2 separate regions of the Homo sapiens genome follow, and region 1 is linked to region 2. Evidence: promoter capture Hi-C in human tissues and cell types (Jung and others, 2019). All regions are on one chromosome and are shown on one strand. The core of a region is centred on a gene start or on the middle of the fragment in contact, and the rest is flanking DNA. Distances in the headings are between cores, read along the strand shown.

Region 1 (2,890 bases), core at 254-2,753, 320 kb before region 2:
AGTTAAAGTTAGATAAACCATTGCCTGAAAACTGCCTAGGCTAAGCACTAGATTTTCCATGAGAAGGTTGTTTTCGATTCTAGTCTTGTTCTCTGCAAAAGTAAATGGGATTTGCCACTAGTTAAGGAATTCTGTCTCTGGCAAAAGTGTCGTGCAACTGAGAGAAGTAATAGCGGTGCTTAAAATTTTCGAGATCACTTCTGTTTACCAAGTGTAAGCTGTACAAACACTCAGCAAGTAATAAATGAGTCTGAAATAGTCCTCAAGGATAACGATGAAAAAAAAAAGTGTCCAGAATTCATTGTGAAAAATCAGAATCATCCTTAATGATACAGCATTATTTATTAGTAGTAAACAGTAAAGATACGGAGATGCAGTATCATTTTAAGCAAGTCAGCTAATGTTGCTGGATCTCATCTGTGAAACGAGAAAGTTGAACTCTATTCTAAGGGGTGAAAACCTTTCAGCATAAAAATTTTATGGTTCCAGAAGTCACCCAGACTGGAGAAATAAGTACATATACAATATGCTGGCATGAGAGCCTCCCTGGTAGTTAATTTCTTACTGTTCTTTTTGTGCCATTGTTAGAGGAATAACACGTAATTTATGTCTTTCATCTCATAATTGAACTGCAAAACCTTTCTGTTTTTAATTTATCATTTTATTCCCTAAGTCTAGCATTGGTTTTGGCACATTTTTGACCCTTAGTAAATACTTGTTGAAGTAACTCGACCTCTCACAACTTCATTTATTAAAGTACAATACACCCATTTATTGTACTTGATACTTGTTTAAAATTTGTTAAAATACAATACCCCCATTTATTGTACTTGATATTTGGTATTCATTTTCTGGACTAACTTTCCTAAAGGAGGAAGTTCTCTAATGTGATTCCTCCTGCTGAAGACTATCGATTCCCTATTTATTCAATCCAGATTCCGTTTGATGTTATACGTGAAAAGTCCATAAACTGTTTCTGTAAAGGGCCAGACGGTAAATATTTTTGGCTTTGTGGGCCATGTGCAGTCTCTGTCACATTCTTTCCCAGGCTGGAGGGGCAGTGGCGCAATCTTAGCTCACTTCAACGTCTGCCTCATGGGTTCAAGCCATTCTCCTGTCTCAACCTCCTGAGTTGCTGGGATTACAGGCACGCCCCACCACTCTTGGCTAATTTTTGTGTTTTTAGTAGAAGCAGGGTTTTACCATGTTGGCTAGGCTGGTCTCAAACTCCTGACCTCAGGTTATCCGCCTGCCTCAACCTCCCAAAGTGCTAGGATTACAGGCATGAGCCACAACACTGGCGTTTTAAGTGCCTTTAGTTTTAACAGTTCAGTCTTTACAGTGCTATTTACTGAAGTTATTTATTAAATATGCCTAAAATAGTTTTAAAAAACGTAAAAAACCATTCCTAGCTCAAGGCCATACAGAAACAGAATGAGGACCATAGCTTGCCAACCCTTCCTAAGTAATCAATTCCCCAGGTGTATCAATTATTTTATTTTCATGTTATCTTCTCTGGTCAGATAGCCGAGCATTGTCTACCTTCTGCATTAGTTGAAACTTGTAAAATTTATATTGTAATAATTACTTATAAAATGCTTTAAAGCAGAAACAACTTAATGTTTTCATAGCCCAGAGCACATGTGAGGAGAGGCAGACCATATTTTGCAGCAGCACTGTGCCAAGGGGCTGTTTTCATTAAAGAGGGTTAATGACATTAAGATGAGGTTCTCACTTAGGTAAGTTAATTTTCTGTTTATTATTTTATAATATTCTTAGGGCATTGTTTTAAGATTTTATCGTCTTGAGTATCTTTAAGCTTTAACAACTCATTTTTGATGTTTGACATGTATGCTAATTTAAAAGTATTGGTAAAGTCAGCTAAATGCATTCACACATCTAAAAAGGACTATTTTCTCTGCTTGAATGCTTATTAGAACTACTTGGAGCCCTTATTCCTCCCCCACCCCACCCCATGTTTTAAAAGTTATACAAATCATCGTTAGAAAATTAAAGATACATCAGTCTAAATATGTAGGTCTTGCTTTAGTATCAGGTTCGTCATTTCAAGCCATTCAGCCTTATTAGTGTACAAAGCACATTTAGTTACTTGGAAAGCAGGCATTCTGATTTATTGATTGTGGGGGGCTATCTTCCCTCCCTTTGTCCCTCTTTTAAGAAATTGAAAACATTTAAAATGTAATTAAGAACTTTAATCATTTGTTTTTAAACTTTTAGGCTAGTGATACAGAGCGAGATGGACTAGCCCCAGAAAAGACATCACCAGATAGAGATAAGAAAAAAGAGCAGTCAGAAGTATCTGTTTCTCCTAGAGCTTCAAAACATCATTATTCAAGATCACGATCAAGGTCAAGAGAAAGAAAACGAAAGTCAGGTATGAATTCTTAAAGGTGGTTACAACTCTCAGCATTTGTATAAGATATGTAGACCTGTTGTATAAGAAGACACATACATTTAGTTTGTTGGCTGGGCATGGTGGCTCAAGCCTGTAATGCCAGCACTTTGGGAGGCCAAGGCAGGCAGATCACCTGAGCCAGGACCAAAAATACAAAAATTGACACACTCTCAGCCCAATGCAACCTCCATCTGCTGGGTTCAGGCAGTTCTTCTGCCTCAGCCTCCTGAGTAGCTGGGATTATAGGCGTGCGCCACCACGCCTAGCTTATTTTTGTATTTTTAGTAGAGACTGGGTTTCACCATGTTGGAACATATCAAATATAATTCAACCTGTTTATTTTCTTTAGTTTTTATTTTTCTTAATGGCTTACCTCTCTCTATTAAACCCCCTTATGAATTTGCTGTAGACTAGGAAACTAGATGGGCTGGTCAGAATATATGTAAAATACTGAAAGTCTATGACCGTTTAAAA
Region 2 (2,700 bases), core at 131-2,630:
GTTTACAGTAGGAAGAGGCCAGCCCGGCTAGTGAAAGAGCTAAGGGTTTTGTTGGTTTTTTTTGAGACAGTGTCTCTGTCACCCAGACTCTAGTGCAGTGGCACAATTATAGCTCACTGCAGCCTGGAACTCCTGGGTTCAAGCGATCCTCCGGCCTCGGCCTCCCCAGTAGCTGGGACTACAGGCGTGCAGGGCCCGGCTAATTTATTTTTTGTAGAGATGTGGTATCTTTTGTTGCCTGGGCTGGTCTGGAACTCCTGGCCTCAAGCGATCCTCCCGCCTTGGCCTCCCAAAGCGTTGGGACTACAGGCGTGAGCCACCGGCCAGAGTTTTCTGAGCCCCCTGGAGATCTATGCGGGGGTGGGGGACAAGGGGGTCTGGCAGAGGCGGTGAAAGAATCTGACCTTTGGTAAAAGGCCACTCCTACCGCCCCTTCCCTGGTGGGCTGCGGAAGGCTGGGGAGGAAGCATGAACGGCAGCTGGAGACTGTCTCCGTGCTCAGGATGCCGGGCGGCGGCGGCGGCGGGGTCGAAGCGAGATGAGTCTCAGGTGTGCGAGCACCGCGGGCTGTGGACGAGAGGCCCGGGCGGGCGGCGGTGCCATTCACCGAGAAGGGCGCACAGCAGGTGGCTTGGTTCCGTCCCAGGAGGTTTCAGCCCAGGCTGCGCCGCGGCCCGGGTGGCCCCTGTCCCGCCGCGGGCGTCCCCAGGCGCTGGCCGCACGGCCTCGCCCCGCCGCCCTCCGAGCCGCGGAGACCCCAGAGCCCGGCTCTCCACCCGCCGCGGAGCGCACGACCCCGTCTGGTGGGGCGCGGGTCCTGAGGCTGCGCTCGGCCTTGGGCGGCAGCCGCCTCGGATCCCCACAGGACTCGGTGACCCAAAACGCCCTGGCGCGGGCAGGGGGCGAACTCTGGTTCATTCTTTCAACGCGACAGTCTCCGAAGGGCTGACGGCAGCAGAGACCCACTCTGCGGGGACCCCCGGGCCGGGGTTGGCAGCAGCGCTGCGCGTCGGGCGCGGGCGGCCCAGGCTGGCGGGGTCTACCGCGCCCGGCTCCAGCCTCTGTCCCCAGCCTGGAGAACCGAAGCCGAGCGGCCCGTGGGCCCCGAGCCGTGCCCGCCGAGGCCAGACTCGCGCCGCACCCGGGCGGGGCCGGCGTCCTCGCGGGGACCCTGGGGGACCGGGGAGCGGGCCGCGGGGTGCAAAGGCACGGCCGCCCTGGCGACGCCCCTCCCTGCACGGTGACCCAGCCTCCCTCACAGCAGCGGCGTCCCGGCCCCCAACCTACCTGAGCGTGACGCCGGGGTACGGGCGTGGAGCTCGTGCAGCGGAGCCAGGGCGGATGGCGCCCAGGTGCGCGGAGCTCTCGGGGCTCGGGAGTGGGCGGGGCTTCTGGAGGAGGTGGGAATTTGGGGCGGGGTTCTGGCGGGGGCGGGTTTGGGGCCTCCCCGGACCCAGCCGCGGGTCTCCGCAGCGCCGGAGGCTGGACGCACGCGTCCCGCGCCCGGTCCTGGGGTCCGCACGAGCCGGGTCGGGCAGAGGCTGCTCCTCCTCCCCAGGACGCCGGCGCCACACCCGCCCCCCGACGCGTGCGGCGGGACAGAAGCGGAGGCGGGAGTGCTGGGAACAGCCTTTACTGCCCACGCCCTACACGGCGAACATGCGCAGAGCCTCCTCCGCCGAGCGGCACTGGTTCAGCTGGATCTGCACCTCTACGGTCAGGGGCTCAGGGTGGTAATCGCCTTCGTAGATCGGAATCACGGCTTTCGGCTTTTCTGAGAAAATTTAAGTGCGAGCATGAGCCCCGGGAGACGGATGGGCTGGCGTTCTCGGCCGCCCTGACCCATCCCATATGCAAGCCCTGGACCCTGTCCCAGCGGGAGCACAGTTTTGGTCCTCGGGTGTTAACAGTAATAAGAAATAAAATTAAATTGTATTTAATTAGATCATTTAATAAATCGCAGCTGTTTGAGTTGCAAGACTGGCTGCTTTTTGCTTTGAGACAGTGTCGTGCTCCGTCGCCCAGGCTGGAGTGCGGTGGCATGATCCCGGCTCACTGCAACCTCCGCCTCCCAGGTTCAAGCGATTCTCCTGCGTCAGCCTCCAAGTAGCTGGGATTACAGGCGCCTGTCACCACGACCGGCTATTTTTTGTAGTTTTAGTAGAGACGGGGTTTCACCATGTTGGCCAGCCTGGTCTCGAACTCCTGACCTCAAGTGATCCGCCTGCCTAGGCCTCCCAACGTGCTAGGATCACAGGCGTACACTACCGAGCCCAGCTGCAGATATTTTCTTAAAAATGAAGTAATTATAGCACTTCAGGGGAAACAACTGAAAGCATTTCAATAAATGTATAACATTTGCCCTAAAAATGAGACAACATTGTATCTGCCACCATGAATTTACCAATTTTCCAATACGCAAAGACCTTTCTAATGATGTGGGTGGTGATAGTAAAGAACGTGATCTTTGGAAAATGTATAGTGACAGGTGTCAACTGTTGGAATATCTGCATAAGTCTGTTAACCTGTAGTTTACAAGTAACTCATGCATGTTACAAACTGCATGGTAAAATATCCGTTCAAAATGCAAACTAGATTAATGAATTTTAATCTGATTATGAAAAATTCAATATAGATTGTTTTCACATTGTAACAACCTTTAAGAAATTACCACTTGTCAAATTTGGTGTAATATTAAAG

What was found. The method cuts DNA at HindIII sites, captures the fragments that hold promoters and counts their contacts. A contact is called where the count stands out against the background at its distance.
Region 1: a fragment that was not itself captured here is called in contact with the fragment with the promoter of B3GNT4 in region 2 in 1 of the 25 tissues and cell types used here (dorsolateral prefrontal cortex).

What each region holds. Positions count from the first base shown.
Region 1 is chr12:122,521,648-122,524,537 of GRCh38, reverse strand. RSRC2 (arginine and serine rich coiled-coil 2) reads left to right here. Exons shown (of 10, transcript NM_023012.6): 2 at 2,239-2,395. Among named protein-coding and RNA genes, the nearest start is that of RSRC2, 3.8 kb to the left of the region's middle. The HindIII fragment of the contact is 5,664 bases long and covers 1-2,890 here.
Region 2 is chr12:122,202,389-122,205,088 of GRCh38, reverse strand. B3GNT4 (UDP-GlcNAc:betaGal beta-1,3-N-acetylglucosaminyltransferase 4) reads right to left here and starts at 1,380. Exons shown (of 3, transcript NM_030765.4): 1 at 1,288-1,380; 2 at 405-567. The coding sequence starts at 470. LRRC43 (leucine rich repeat containing 43) reads right to left here. Exons shown (of 12, transcript NM_001098519.2): 12 at 1,618-1,774. The coding sequence ends at 1,647. RefSeq lists a silencer at 1,066-1,695. The HindIII fragment of the contact is 16,495 bases long and covers 1-2,700 here.